2 separate regions of the Homo sapiens genome follow, and region 2 is linked to region 1. Evidence: promoter capture Hi-C in human tissues and cell types (Jung and others, 2019). All regions are on one chromosome and are shown on one strand. Each heading gives the region's core, a stretch centred on a gene start or on the middle of the fragment in contact. The rest is flanking DNA. Distances are from core to core; before and after follow the strand shown. Region 1 holds the start of CYP26B1 (cytochrome P450 family 26 subfamily B member 1). Region 2 overlaps EXOC6B (exocyst complex component 6B).

Region 1 (7,893 bases), core at 3,273-5,772:
AGGGATAAACACCCACTTTCCCTTCCTCTTTCGGGGGGGGGTGGGTGCGCTTTGATCCCCGCTCGTGCCTCGCCTGCTCTCCCCCCGCCCGCCCTTCCCCCACGGCCCAGACCCGTGCGCTCCGCTGCCCAGGCTCGCCGCACCTCTCTGACCAGGCCCCGCCACCGCAGCCCACAAGCTGTCCCCAACCTCCACGCGCAGCCGCCTGCCCGCGACTCCCTTCAAGCAGCCTGTGGTGGGAAGGACAGCTTTGATTTTAGAATGATCGGTCTCCAGTCCTCGGAATTCCCTGGGAAACGTGGCGAAAAGGCGAACGCCGGCCAACTGTCCCGCCCCCTTCTTTTTCCAGCTCTGTGGAGCAAGGCAAGGACAGGCTTTGGACACCCCAGACCCCGCACGCTCAAGCTCTTCCAAGCCACCGTTGGGGGTGCCCATGACGCAGTCGGCCAGCAAGAAAAGGGACCAAGAGGAGGCCGGAGCAGGCCCTGGATCCGGACTCGAGGCCTTGTCGGCGGGGAACTGCGGAGTCTTCAAGCATGGTGTGCAAAGGGGGGCACAGATTCGGTAGGGGACATTCCCCGGGCTCCAGGAACTCCTTGCCCCGAGGTGGGGGAGGGATTGCGCGGAAGAAAACGGGCAGAGTTCTTACCTTGCGCTTGTTGCGGTGGATGTCGCCAATGGAATTGGACACCGTGTTGGGGCCCAGCAACATGCGGGTGCTGCGAGGCCACTCGGTGCTCACGAGGTGGTGCTCGCCCATGAGGATCTTGCGCACGTTCTCCGCGCCGGTCACGCGTATCAGCGGCCGCCCCAACAAATGCGTCTTGAACACGTTGCCATACTTCTCCCTCCGCGACGACTGGAAGCCAGAACCCTGCGGGAGCCACACCCGGGTCTCTCTCAGGGTGCACTTCTGCAGAGGGCCCGCGAGGGAGGGGCGGCGGACCCCAACCCGGGGTACAGTCACCTGCCCCCTCTCCCCACCAAACACACTCACACAGACGAGCACGCAGGTTTTATTTTTCATAGCGTGCACAAGAACTGCGAAGTAGGGCCTAGAGGATAATAAATAATGCAAGGAGGCGGAGGCCCAGGGGCACCCCCAGGAGGCTGTTTTTTGGTAATGACTTTCGAGAGGAAAGAGGTATCCCGGACAGCTGGACCCGAAGCGGGAGTCTCCGCCCCCACCCCCACCCCCACACCCCCACCCCGCGCTCGGGAGCCTCTCGGAATAAATATTTCCAGGCTCCGGGCCACGGGCTGGCGAGACCCCGCGGGGTGGCCGCAGGCCAAAGATTATTTATAGCGGTAAGCGGTCGGTGCCCGGAGGCAGCAACTACAGATGGGGGTTGGAGTTTCCTCCGCTCTCCGGTGTGGCCCGCGCAGGGACCCGGCGGCCCTCGGAGGACTCTGCAGGGCGGGGTCACGGGCCCAGAGCCGCGATTTTCCTAATGCATTTTGCCCTGGAAATAACGGAGACGGACTTTGGTTGCCGCCCTGGAGTTTGGAACCCGAGCGCGGGGCGGGGCGGGACCGGGCAGGGCGACCCGCGCAGGTAACCAGATCCCCGGTGGTGGCGGCGCAAGCCGAGGATGGCGGGGCCGGGGCCGGCCGGACTCTCGAAACGGCTGGCGGAGCCGGCCGGGCGCGGGTACCGGAAACCGTGGAGACCTCAGAGGGGCGGGGGCAAGGGCGTCCCGCTCACCTTTGACGTCGGCACTAGTTACCCCACCCCACGTTAACCCTTCTCCTGCCGGGGCAGCACCCGGCGCAAAGGGGAGGGGCGCCACCTGTCTAGCCGCCCCGCCTGCCAGCCCACGAGCGTACCGACTCGGGCTCCAGATCTACCCGCTCCTGCACCCCCGAGGGGACAACTCAGTCCCCCTAGCCCGGGTTGGTCCCCCTCCTCACTTTCCTTTTTTCCACAGAAAACTACTTCCAGCTAAATGTGCACACACGCCAGTACAGCCGAAAAGTGACTCTGCAGAACCCGGAGCCCTAATCACTTTTCCACATGCGCCTCCGGCCCGGCGCGCGACGGGGAACGAGCTGGGAGCGCCCGCGCAGCCAGGAGGGGGGCTGGGCCGCGGGAACGCTGTCCCCCTCCCAGGCTGGAAGGCGGGGATAATTCCCCCTGCCGTGCAGCCCTTCTAGACGGCGTCTACCCCTTTAAGAAAAATCTAGGCGGAGGTGGGGTGCGACAGAAGGGGTGGTGAGGCGAGGGTTTCCCTCCCTCCGTCTGCTATACCCGTCTCCCTCGCTCCGTCTCACTCTCCGTCTTTCCTCTCCTTCTTTTCCTCTGTTTTTCTTTTCTTTCAACACAAAAGTTGGGTTGTGAATTTTCCGAGGTCGCCGCCGCCTCGCCCCCACCCCCCGCCTCTGATCTGCCTAACTATAATTAAAGTGCGTTTTTTGTGGCATTAATAAAGAGTTATTTGTCCGCCGTTTCCACGGTCTTCACAAAGAGTACTTTCATAGGGGCGGCCGCTCGGGCCGCGAGTCCAATTTATACAAAAATGTTGTATTTTTAGCCCTGGGCTCTGTTTAGATGGCGCTCGGTGGAAACGGAGAGCCCTTGGAGGTCCCCCCGTAAAATCTGATAAATGACTCCGAAAAAATAACGCTGGGATTCAGAGGGCTCTCATTAACCCCTTAGGCGCTCCTGTACACGTACCCCCTATTTCCCTCCTCACCTCCAGATCTAGGGCCCCGGGTTGGAGGGATGGGGAGGCTTAGGTTTCCTCCTCCCTAACTTCTGTGCAGGTTGGACGCTGACCCCCAGGGGCTCTTGTGGGATTCGGAGAAAAGGTCATGGGGACCTGAGGGGGGGCAGAGAGGTCAGGAAACGAAGTGGGGGTGGGTGGTGACAGACCGTGGATTCAGCAGACTGGCTCTAAAAGGCGGGAGCCGTTGCCCAAGTTATTTTATTTCCTAAATTCGCGGCCCAAAGCCTAGAGCACCGCTGCAGTTGACACTTTAAGTGTGGTGGCGAGGGAAAGGCTCTGGGGATTTCTTTGCGGGGGGTGGGGGGGTGATACATCCATTGGTTGAAAGGACCCCCACCTCATTGCACGAACAACCCCAAAAAGAGATGGGCCTAATCCGGGACGTGGAAAGACCACAGGGCAGAGGAACTTCGAACCCCCTCCCCGCCCCCGCTCCGCTGTCACTCGTCCCGGGGCAGGGTGAGTGCGTGTGTGCGCGAGCGCGCGGATTGCACGCGTCTGTTAATTTCAAGCCAAGCTTTCGCACCTGTAAACCCACAGGTCGCAGCGCTCACCTTTCGCTTCACCTCTCTAGTGCGGGGATTGTCAGTTTCAGGACATCCCTGCTTCCCCTAACAGAACAAACGCGCGTACACACAAATACACCTCCCGCAGTTACTGCAGAGGCGCTCCGCTCCCCCACCCCAAGAAGAAAACCGGTGTGTATCACATTGCAAAAGCGATTGTCTGGCACTTGATGAGGTGAACTCCAGGTTAATCTCCCCATTACCTACCTGGGTCTGGTCCCTGACGCGCCTCACCCCCGTTATCACCAGCAGAGTGGGGTTGTGCGGCATCTAACAAGCACACACGCACTCTCTCTCTATGGATCCCACACTCACCTCTCCCAAGTTTCCCTCTCCTGCCAAACTGTCCCCACCCAATAAGTAAATAGACCCTTTTCCCCGAAAGCCTAGAGCCCTGGATTCTCATTTTTCCTTGGGTTACCTTCTTCCTCTTCCACCACAAAACAGACACACTCGCGCGGACCGCGGACCAGGGACACTGTACCTGGCGCTGCCGACGGCGCCGCAGGAACACAGTTTTAAATCGGCAATTCAAGCTGCCACCAGCCCCCTCCTCTCCCGACTCAATTTTCGGCTCCCAGCGACACAGCCAACCCCAGAAAGCCGAGGGCGACTGGGGGCTTGCAGCACCGAGGGGAGGCGAAAGCGGCTCAGGACCGGACCCTCCCCCGGGACCGCGCCTCGCTAGGCGCCCCCGGGGCGCTCCACGCCCCCTGCCAGGCCAGCCGCGACCCAGGCAAGTCCATCTTGGGAGCCCCCTCAGGTCCGGGAACCCCTCTTACCAGCCCCCTGAACCTGCGCCGCGGGCGCCAGTGGTCCCGGAACCGCGCTGCCGGCGGGCTGGGGAAGCCCGGGCTGCTGCGGCAGAGAGGAGGGAAGGGGCGGGGCGGGGACCAGTGCCTTCAGGCTCCCGGCGCCCCCTGGCCGGCCCGCCGCTCCGTCTGCCCCGCGCTCGCAGCTAGCGGACCCCGGAGTGCAGCGGAGCGAGCGCGCCCTTACCTGCAGCAGCCAGTGGCCGGTCTCTCCGATGAGCGGGAAGCCCATGGATCCCTTGGGGATGGGCAGCTTGCAGCTCTTGTCGCGAGTGGCGGCCCAGCGCAGCTGCCACAGCTGCTGCGACACGGCCAGCAGCAGCGTCACGGACACCAGGCACGCGGCGAGGGTGGCCAGCGCCGACACCAGATCCAAGCCCTCAAAGAGCATGTTGGCGGCCGCTCGGGGGATTGGCTGTGCCGGCCGCGGCGGGGGAGGGGAGGGCCCGACGGGAGGGGACCGGAGCGGCGGGGGAGGGGAGGCTGCGGCCGGGGGTCCTGGCACCTCCAGCCGAAACAGAGAAGGAGGAAGGGGCCAAGGGAAAGGGAGTGGAGGCTGCGAGGGGAGCGGAGAGAGGGAGGAAAAAAATTGCCTAAAAGAAGAGAGGAAACACGAGGCGACTGGGGTGCAACTTTGTTTGTTTGTTTGTTTGTTTGTTCCTTTATAGCGGGCTTAGGGGCTGCTCAAGGGGTGGTGAGATGAAGCCGTGAGTCAAGCTGGTGGGTTTGCTCTCCCCGCTACCATCACACTCGGAAAACTTTGGAAAACTTTGTCCAGAGGGAGCCTCTCTCTCGTAAGCCCCTTCCCCTGCTCGGAAAAAAAGAAGGGGGCAGAGAGCTAGCAGAGAGAAAGTGCGGTCGATTTGTCAAAAGTATTGCAGTATGGCCCCAAAATTCCTAGGTGAAAAAAAGAAAAAAAGAAAAAATTCCTGAATCCAAAAATTCCAACGAACCCAGAAACTTTGGGGGCGAGGGAGAAAGCTCCCTGGCTGAGGCGAGTGGAGAGGCCGGAGCCTAAAAGTCCCTGGGCTGCCCGGGGCGGCGCGCTCGAGCCCCAGAGCCGCCGCAGCACCCCCGAGGCAGGAGCGGCGGGCGAGGCGGCGAGGCGGGCGCTGCGGCCCGAGCGCGGGTGCGGAGCCGGCGGGCCGCGGCCGGGACGGGACGCAGCCGGCGACAGAGCCCCGGGCGGGCGATGGGGCGGCGGCGGCGGCGGCGGCGGCGGCGGCGGCGGCAGCGGGCGGGAGGGGTGAGGCGGGGTGGGGTTGGGGGAGGAGGTGGAAAACCCGAGCTGGGCTATTGTATCAATTAAGAAAAGGCAGTCCGTCCCGGGACGCGGTCTCTCGGCTCTGGAGTTGCTGCTGGGGGAAGAAATGGGGAAAAAAGAAAGGAAGGCAAAAGGAATGAAAGAGGGGGAAAAGCAGGAGGCAGGATTTCAGGGCTGGTGGTTTTAAAAGCTTCTCTCAATGTGAATTTGAGTCCAAAGCGAGGCGATGCGTGTGTTTATATAGAGGCGGGAGGCTGCGCCGTGGGCGCCCCGCCAGCACCCCCCCGCCCCAACCCGCGCGCTCACAAAGCCGGAGGCGTGGTGAGAGGCCGGGCCCGCGGCCGGAGCTGGAGAGCGCAGCCCGGCCTCCCGCCCCGCCCCGGCCGCCCGCCGCCCGCCGCCCGCAGCCCGCCCGGGACCCACTTGTAGCCGCCGCAGGATCAAACTCAGTTCACCTCTCGCCTCCTCTTCTTTCTCGCCGGCGTCTCGCTGAGCCCAGCGCCTACAGACGGACGAGATGAGACACACGCGCGCGCACCTACGCGCACACACACACAACACACACGCGCACACACACAACACACACACCTCCGCACACACGGTGCGCACTCGCTTAGTGCCTGCTTGGCTTCTAGGCTCCTTCCCTTCCTCTTTTCCTCCTTCCCAGGTCAGCGGTCCCCTCCTCCAGCTCCGAGCAGTCCCTCCTGGGCCGAAGCCCCGGCAGCGGAGGTCCTGGCCGGACTGCCCCCTCGACTGGCAGGCGCCCAAAGCCCTCGAAACTGTGCCTTAGGGTCCCGAGCTTCCAACCCCCGGGATCCCGCTGGCTCTTATCTCCAGGGACCCCTGAGTTACCAGTCCCAATCCCCCTAAGCCAGATCCCCCATTCCCGATCCCTATATCCTCACACCTCCGATGCTAAGGTCCGCCCCCGCCATATGTCTCTTACCCTACGGAACCTGGAGGTTCTCCTGTCCCCGTCAGCGTCCCAGGCTGCTGACTCTGCAGCCCCTCCTTTCCTGCACATTGGGACCCCCCTCCCCTGCTTTTGTAGTCCCCCTCCACCGCCCGCAGCGTCGGGGAACCCCGATACTGGTCCGGCAAGTGTCCTGCGCGGGGACAAACGCGGCGGCCCCGGTACCCAGAGGCGGGAGAAGACGGGCACAAACGTTCATTGATACAAATGAGTAAATAAACATGCTGGGTGAGCACGGCCACCTTCTCAGCGCTGGCAGCAGAGGGCCCGGCGCGCGTGCCTGTGTACGGTGTGCGTGTGGCCCGGGGCCGCACCTGTGTGTTCGCGCGCGTGGCCTTGCGTCGGCCCGACGTCTGAGGAGCGACGTGGTATGTCTGTGGGTTTGTGTATTCTTTGTAGAGCCATGAGTGTGTCTGCGCATCCGTGCATCTGTCATCTGGCCTCTCCTCCTGCGAGCCTGTGTTAACATGGAGCTGCGTACAGCAACCCCGACATTGGTCTAGCTAATGTCTGCCCCTCTCTCTCCCGTGCATCCTGCTTCCCTCAGCCCCCCTTGGCTCTGGCGTTCACTCTCACACTCCCGGAGCCAGAGTCGATATCCCATCTTTAGTTTAGAGTAGTGTGTGTGTCAACGATACTAGACTCCGCTTTTAACACCTTGCCTGCACCCAGTACGAGTTCTGCTTTAGAGTTCACGAGACGAGAATGTGTGTGAGCGTCTAAGGTGCGCACAGATGTGTTGTCCCTCCCTGTGTGAGCGCTTCCGAGGCTGGTGTGGCAGGAGATCTAAACGCTGGTCTAGCTCCTAGCGCTGGGTCACCTCGGCTTCACTCTCTGCCCTGGAACCCCACCTGGTGGGCAGTTATAGTACTACAGATTCGGGGAAACAATTCCCTCTGCTCCCTTTCCGCACTCGCCCTTCATAGTGGGAGATCAGCTCCAAAGGGCCGGGTTGTAGGCTCCCAAAGCACCCCGCTCCTGTGTCAGTGACCTCAGACGTCCACCCCAGGATGCTTGGGGCCGGACACTTACGAAGGCCCTGTCAGGATCACTGTGGTCCTGAAACAGGGGGCTAGGAAGCACCCTCGAAGCAGGGTGGTTTCACAAAACAGTCACATCTGAACAGGGCACGTCAAAGTGCCAGAGCCACCCCACACCCTATCTGAGGATGAGGCTAACATAAAATGGGGTTGGGGGAGATTGTTAAGGTCTTGCTGGCTTGAAGAGCTCTAAGAATCTAGCCTGACCCCCAGACACAGCACTGGCCACAAGGTGGTGAAATGGGCAAGGTAACCCAGGAAAACTCACCTGTGGAAATCTCCATCTCCTAAAGGACAGACATGCACACAGCTTTATAGAGATGCAGATAGATGTACAGGCTGATACTGAGCACACACACACACACAAAGGATCATTGTCACAGTCACAAAACACCCACCTTCCAGCCACCAACCCAAGAGACCACAGGAGGTGTCTGCCGTGTGGGGATCACAGCCCCAGAAGTCCCCCAACACGCCAATTGCCTTCCTCCCATCCCCTCACTCCTGGGTGG
Region 2 (7,893 bases), core at 2,974-5,473, 570 kb after region 1:
TAAATAAAGTAATATTCTTCATGGCTTCCTCTTTCTTTCATCAAAAGGGAAGTAAATTAATTTCTCAAGCAGAGGCCTAGAAAAAGCAATTTTTAAAAAGGCAACTTCCATAGAGGCTTTGTACTACACTCTCCTATATTTTAAAAGCTTAGGAAAAACTGAACCAATCACAATAAAGACTTATCTTAGAAGATAGCTTCATTCCTGTATTCAAAATACGTACCCAGCAATGCTAAGGTATATTGTCACTGATTAATTTTATTTCTCCATCACTATAAGCAATGAAATCATATAATTATTTCTATCAGGTTTATCATCTAGTTTTAAACTCTGCACTTTGTGAAGTATAACACTGACAAAATTTAAAGGAAGAAAAGGGAAATATCTGCATTCCCTGAGGAAAGGGTAACTGGAGAATCTCTTTTGGAGGATCAAATAGATATTATAGATCAAATAGACATCTGAATAGATTATCAAGGCTAGTCGAGACCTAAAATATGATTTGAAATATAATCTATTCCCTCATTCCTCACAGAATGATAAAAACTACAAATGATCTATTCAAGAACACTATTGTTTACAGAACCAAAAAGTACTTTCCATAAACAACTGACTCTTGTATTTGTTGCTGTAGGCTACATCATCAGGTATACTAAAAATTTTTAATAAAATCAATGTGACAAATTTCAAGTGAGCAAATGCCATTATAAAACATTACTGACCTTTCATTCATAATTTAAAAAAAGAAATTTAGATGTTCCTTGTGACTTTGGTGACTTAGGAATGAAGATTTTTTTAACAAATGTATATACTGCTAACATATTTTTTAATATATAAGCTGTTAATAAATCCTTTTCTTTGATCATAATTCAAAGCATTTCCTAATAGGCCTTTTTTCACTGATACCTATTAATATCAGAAATATGCATATATAACATGCTATCTTGCTTACGTAGTAAATAATCAGCCAAAGACACATGCAGTACAATTTAGGTCATTAACTAGAAGGAGAACTTTAAAATATCTTAAGCTACAAATTATATGCAAAGTCAAGGGAAGTATACAAACAGTAGAAAAATTTCTTCATAACCTCAATGTAAACCATCACAACTGATCAATATTTACTGAACATCTACAGAGCAAATTGTCCATTGCTCTGTTAAAAAAATGAAAACATTTTTAATCATATGTTTCCATAAATATGAAGGACTTCCCTAAAATGATAAGAAACTTGGATAAGATAATGACTAGACACTTGGCAAAGAGAAACCTGTGTTTAACTCAATACTGATAAAGCCACTGGCCAACCTATCATAAACCCAAGACCTACTTGCTTCATGGCAGTCTCTCCAATTTTGTCTGAATGTTTGCGGATGCTCTCCAGAAAGTCTTTGAGATCGGACATAGAAACATCTTTTATTTCTTCTCGAAGCTTGGGGATGTTGTCCACCATCACCTTGCAGAATCGATAGTGGCTTACTTGAGGCAGGTAGGTATGCTCTAGATGTTCCAGAGTTTTCAGTGCAGGATAATGCCTACAAAAGGAATTGATCACCTTTAGCTCACTCAGTTTTCTTTAGGGTTAGGCAAAATGTCTAGCCTGAATTGGTTTTCACTGTGCATTAACACAAATCCAGCATGAAGTTTTAATGAGAACATCAGTGAAAAGAATCTCAAATTATTAAAAACTAATACATACTTTAAAAGACCAGGAAATTATAATCAAAAAAAGATTTTATCCAAAGAATGCATAAGATTTAAAATAGCTACCAATAAAATTAATGACATAAGAGAAATAAAAGGGGCCAGGCATGGTGGATCATGCTTGTAATCCCAGCACTTTGGGAGGCCAAGACAGGTGGATCACTTGAGGCCAGGAATTTGAGACTAGCCGGGTCAACACAGTAAAACCCCATCTCTACTAAAAATACAAAAATTAGCCAGGCCTGGTGGCGCAAGCCACCTCAGAAAGCTGAGGCATGAGAATCATTTGAACCCCGGAGGCGGAGGTTTCAGTTAGCCAAGATCACGCCAGTGCACTCCAGCCTAGAGGACGAAGTGAGACTCAATCTTAAAAAAAGAGAAATAAAAGGAAATAAAGAATGATTGTCTCAATGCCAAAAAAAAATTCATCCTATAAAATGAAGTATCCAAGGCTAGACTTCCAACTATGGCACACAGAAAAGCTTGGCAAATCTTCTATCCAAAGAAAACAAATGTAAACTATCCAAAACAACTATTTCAGGGTTCTGGAAACTAAACAAAAGAGAACAACAAATCAAGAAGTGTTTATTCATAATAACTGCTCAACAGTGGGACTCTGTAGCTTTCTTGCCTGGGGCTACTTCCAACACCCTCCCCCTCTAATTCCTCCACCCCTGGTCATTGGCCATGGCTAGTCATGAAAACCAGCAGCTTTCCTGAGATGAGGGGCTGACACAATTTGGAGCAGAGGGCAAAAAACTCATATTGAGAGATGCTGTTAGTGAAAGTAGCAAACTCAGTAAAAATAAATAAATAAATTAAGAAAAGTCTCCAGCTCTACTGGTCAAATGTTACAATTTGGGTTGGGGCAAACAACAGACCAAAGGACTAATCAGAAATTTAACGGGGAAGTCATAAAAATAAAAGACCTACAGAAGGGCTTGATAAACTCCGCAAGTTGCTAGCCGGCTGAGAGGCTATGCATACCTGCAGGCGACACCTAAAAGGGTCTAAGCAATCCACTCATCCCTGGCTGACTAGGAGGCTGTAGACAGGCACGTGGGAAACCTAAGAAGGTAGGTAAAAGTTTAAGCTGACTTTAAAACTGCTTTTAATGTAGTCCCTAACCCATATACAAACTCATTAGCAAAGACTGGAAACCTTACTCACTCAAGTTTGTTTGAGCATAACCTCTAACCAATCATTAGCTGATGACTATTTAAAAATCAAAGTGAAATATGATACCTTGCTAGATAAACAAAGACAGAAAATTCCTTGCTAGCAGACCTGCCTTACAAGAAATACTAAAGGAAGCCTGAAAGGAAATGACAGCAGATGGTAACTTGAATTCACAGAAAGAAACAAAGAACATGGGAAATAGTAAATACATGCTAAATATGAAAGACAAGTATTTTTTCTCTTTTCTTAACTTCTTTAAAAGATAAGATTTTTTAAAGCAATGATTATAACACTGTATCATTGGGTTTACAAAATATTTAAGTGTAATATATCTAACAATAACAGCACAAAAGAGTAGGAAAGAAATGGAGCTAATGGAAGCAAAACTACTGCTATATATTTACCAAATTTATAGCAGCAGTGACCTCCAGTAGACTGTGATAAGATGCATATTATAATCCATAGAACAACCTCTAAAAAACCAAAAATATATATCATTTGAAAATCAACAAAAGAATTCAAATAGTACACTAAAAATATATAACACAAAAGAAAGCAGTAAAGGAGCAACAAAAACAAAACAAAAAAAGACATGAAAAATAGAAAACAAAGAAGAAAATCCAACCATATCAATAATTACATTAAATGTGAATGGACTAAGCACTCCAATTGGAAGGCCAACATTGTCAGGACTTAAAAAGCATGATCCAACTACATATTGTCTACAAGAAACACACTTAGATTCAAAGATACAAATAGGTTGAAAGTAAAAGAGGAAAGAAGATATGCCATAAAAAAAAGAAACCACAAGGCTGGGCACAGTGGCTCATACCTATAATGCCAACACTTTGGGAGGTCAAGGTGGGCAGATCACTTGAGCTCAGGAGTTTGAGATCTGCCTGGGCAACAAGGCAAAACCTCATCTCTACCAAAAAAATTACAAAAAAATTAGCCAGGTGTGGTGGCGTGCACCCGTAGTCCCAACTACTTGGGAAGCTGAGGTGGGAGGATCACTTAAACCCGGGTGGGCAGAGGTTGCAGTGAGCTGAGATCAGCCCACTGCATTCTAGCCTGGGTAACAGAGTGAGACCCGTCAAAAAATAAAAATAAAAAATAAAGGAAACACAAAAGAGCTGAAATGGCTGTATTAATATGAGATACAAAAGACTTTAAGCCAACAAATATTGCTAGTAACACAGAGGGACATTCCATAAAAAAAAAAGGGATGATATTTGTCTAATAGGAAAGCTTCTATAAGCATAGAAGGACAAATAAAATTAAGATTAATAAAGCTGAATAGGTAGAAACGAAATAAGTTATGCAAAGAAAACATAAGAATAAAGAGAAAAACTGGTAACGTTTATTTGTAATGTGTACCTAAAAGATTAATAGGCCAGGCGTGGTGGCTCATGCCTGTAATTCCAGCACTTTGGGAGTCTGAGGCAGGCAGATCACTTGCGGTCAGGAGTTCAAGACAAGCCTAGGCAACATGGTGAAACCTCTTCTCTACTAAAAATACAAAAATTAGTCGGGCATGTTGGTGGGAGCCTATAATCCCAGCTACTCAAGAGGCTGAAGCAGGAGAATTGCTTGACCCTAGGAGACGGAGGGTGCAGTGAGCTGAGATCACACCACTGCACTCCAGCCTGGGTGATAGAGTAAGACGCCATCTCAAAGAAAAAAGGTTAATAAACTTGAGTTGTTTTTGTAAAAAAAAAAAAAAAAAAAAAAAATGAACAAAGAAAATTCACAAAAGAACCAAAAAGGGCCAACATATGAAAAAAAAAAAAAAATGTTTAACTGATATGTGAAAAAATGCAAATCAAATTGCCAAATATTTCTTAAAAAATAATTTGTAATACATCAGGGGTTTCAATAATGGAATTCACAGCCAGCTGACAAACAGGTTTTTATTAATGACACAAGTTTTCAATGAAGAATTTTAGCAAAACAACTATTTTAAGCAATTGCATTTCCAAACAAAAAAAAGATGCACAGCAGTATGTATAAGCCTCTTGAATTATAGAATTATTTATATTAGCAAATAAAAAAACTAACCTAGATGTCTAATAAGAAGTAGTAAAAGGCTAATAAAATAGCAAAATGTTTACAATATTGTTGAATGAAAATCATTTCAAAAAATAGATCTAATTGCCTCTTGGCCTTTTGGCTAAGATCAAATTTAATATCTGATATATCTTATCAGTTTAATATCTGATACATCCTCTTATCAGAGGACAATATTTATTAAATGGATTTTTGCAGCAGGGAGATAAAATGGGAACTTATTTAGTCCACTTCATGCATCAACCTGGCATTGCAGTACCTCCAGGAATGGTGCTCTAATTGAAAAAAAAAAAAAAAAGATCTTACAAGTATAATCATAATATTCTTCAAAATTATAAATACTTACACATATAAATTATGAACATGTATGCATATATGAGATATATATCACTGGAAACACACACACACACAAAAGTAGAGAGCAAAATGAGAAAAATAAATACAAAAATGTTAGGCATATTTTTCCTTTGGATGGCAATATTACGAGCTAATTTCCTTTGGATGGCAATATTACAAGATAATTTTCTCCTTCATACTTTTAATTTCCTAATTTCCATGTTTCCCATGATATATTTGGTATAGGAAAAATTCAGTTCCATCCTTAAAAAGAAAAAAGACTTATAGCTCTATTTTGGACTTTAAGAATGATTTTCACAGCAGATACTTAAACTCTTCTTGCTCTAATGAATTTAGTACCACAAATGCTAAAGACTAGAGACTGGTTTTACTTGGTTTTTTTGTTTTGTTTTGTTTTGTTTTAATGTTTTCCCTCATGTGTTCCAAAAATCAAAGTCTTTGTTTAAGTAAATGGAGGGAAGAAAGTTTTATTCCCCCTAAATTTAGAAATAAAAGTACAAATATAGTTAAATCTGAAATCATTGCTCTTATTAAAATTTTACAGGCTCAAAAACAATACAATTCACATGGTTTAGTGTAAACAGAATGGTGTTTATACTACAATTAGGTATGAAGAGCTATGTGCAATAAAATGCAATTCCTCTAGAGAGAAACTTTAGAACGGATAGAAAGCCAAAAATTAAGCCAAAAAGATAAACACACTTTGGGGTTTAGTTATATTTTGGAACATTGTTTATAGAATGAGGAAAATTCAACAATGTTGTCTGCAGACGCAAGGCACATTCACTGATGAGACACATGGCTCATGCTGAAAACATCTGGTCTGTCAAATAGCTCCACATTTTTCAAGGCTAATTAGTACAAAACCCAGTGATTCCTGGCAACAAAGAATGTCACCCTATTTCCCCATTTTCCCTTCCCAGTATAGTCACATTTTAACTATAACAAATCAGTAATATTCAAATGTCTAGTCTATTTCAATATCCGTGACAGGTTAAAGAATGATAGCCAACTAACACCTGTATAGCAGGCACCAAAAGAAAAAAAATATGTCCAGTGACCACGGAAATCCAAAATTAGATTTTGATGTACTTTTGACAATCTCCAAACATTATTAAAACTGAATCAAAAGGCAAATTCCTAAGTTTCACTTGTATGTGTGGTCACTCTCTCCCCTCTTCTCATGCAGGCTCCTTAACAGAGATGCAATCAGAACTAAAGTAAAGAAAATAAAAGCAGAGAATAAAAGGGAGGAAGGCAGGGAAAGAGGTTCTAAATAATCCTACAAACTGAGTAACCATGATCAGAATAACAGACATGGTTGAATGCTAAAGCAAGAAGAAGAATATTGATTCCAAGCAAATTAAATTTTGGTACTTTCTTGCCATACCATGGAATTCTTTCACAGTGATGGTTTCTAAAATTCTAGGAAGTGATCCTTGAAAGCAAATTGCAACTATCTATAAGAAATTTTTTAAAATTCAGAGTATGATAAAATATGAAATAAAAACTTTCATCACAGAAAAATATTAGTGTCATTCCTAATCAAAGAGCATCATTAACAAATACGTAATTTCTTCTGTGCGCTAGAGATAGAAAGATGTTCAGATGTCTTTCCCTAGGGAGCACAAAATGCAGTAGAAAAATCAGTATTTATAGCTTAAAAAAAAAAAAAAAAAAGACTTCTAGCTACGAAAGCCTAACAAGGAACAGACATGATCTCTCACTTTATAAACAAGTAGAATATTGGCAAAAATATATGAAACAGCCATTTTCAGACATTGGACATCAGGCAACATAGAACTGCTATCTCTGTAAAAAGAGAAACAAACAAGGTGAGTTTAATAATTACCAGGATTATCTACCTAAAGTTGACTTCTAGGTCATGGGCACAGCCAGAAAAAATCAAAACAGAGCTCAGCAGCCTTGCTGACTTAAAGAATCAGTGATAGTAGCTCAGGAAAGTTGATTCAGCTTGAAGTTGTGTGGCAGAGTTCCCCAAAAAAAGAGCAATGCAGAAAAAGAACTGCAGAAATTTACACAGGGGTTCCCTTGAGTCTGCTAAGTACTAGGACAGGCATAGAGAAAGTGAAATTCCACATGGATAGGTAAAAAGAAGGAAGGAAGGGAGAGAGTGGGAGACCAGCCAGGGGAAGGTAAGATGAACACTTCCACAATCTCAGACAAGGCAGATAAACATTCAAACTCTGAACAGTCAAAATGAAGAGTCGTTGGGGACTCCTGAGCTATTCAGAGTAGATTATAGACGGATCAAGTCTTACTTAGTAAAGCTGAACTTCCCTGGAATAAAGGTGGGCCTTTAAGCAGAGCTTAAAAATTGGGTTTGAAGGTAACAAACTGATCTGCAATCAACTCACCATTCGCTAAAACAAAGCCCAACACTCTCTAAAGGAAAAAAAAAGCACCCCAAAATCCAGAGACTCATCAACATAATGTTCATTAATCAATCAAAAATTTCTGGACATGAAAAGAAGCAAAGAACTGACCTACAACCAGGAAAAACAAAATCAATCTGCAGAAAGATCTAAAAAAATACCAGAAGTGGCAGAATTCGCAAAGGAGTAC

Evidence for each region. The method cuts DNA at HindIII sites, captures the fragments that hold promoters and counts their contacts. A contact is called where the count stands out against the background at its distance.
Region 2: a fragment that was not itself captured here is called in contact with the fragment with the promoter of CYP26B1 in region 1 in 1 of the 25 tissues and cell types used here (dorsolateral prefrontal cortex).

What each region holds. Positions count from the first base shown.
Region 1 is chr2:72,143,340-72,151,232 of GRCh38, forward strand. It overlaps CYP26B1 (cytochrome P450 family 26 subfamily B member 1), which reads right to left and starts at 4,523. Exons shown (of 6, transcript NM_019885.4): 1 at 4,292-4,523; 2 at 650-874. The coding sequence starts at 4,495. RefSeq lists enhancers at 3,199-3,721, 3,911-4,412 and a silencer at 7,838-7,893. The HindIII fragment of the contact is 9,668 bases long and covers 478-7,893 here.
Region 2 is chr2:72,716,773-72,724,665 of GRCh38, forward strand. It overlaps EXOC6B (exocyst complex component 6B), which reads right to left. Exons shown (of 22, transcript NM_015189.3): 6 at 1,331-1,535. It also overlaps the pseudogene RNU2-39P. Among named protein-coding and RNA genes, the nearest start is that of EXOC6B, 110 kb to the right of the region's middle. The HindIII fragment of the contact is 4,829 bases long and covers 1,810-6,638 here.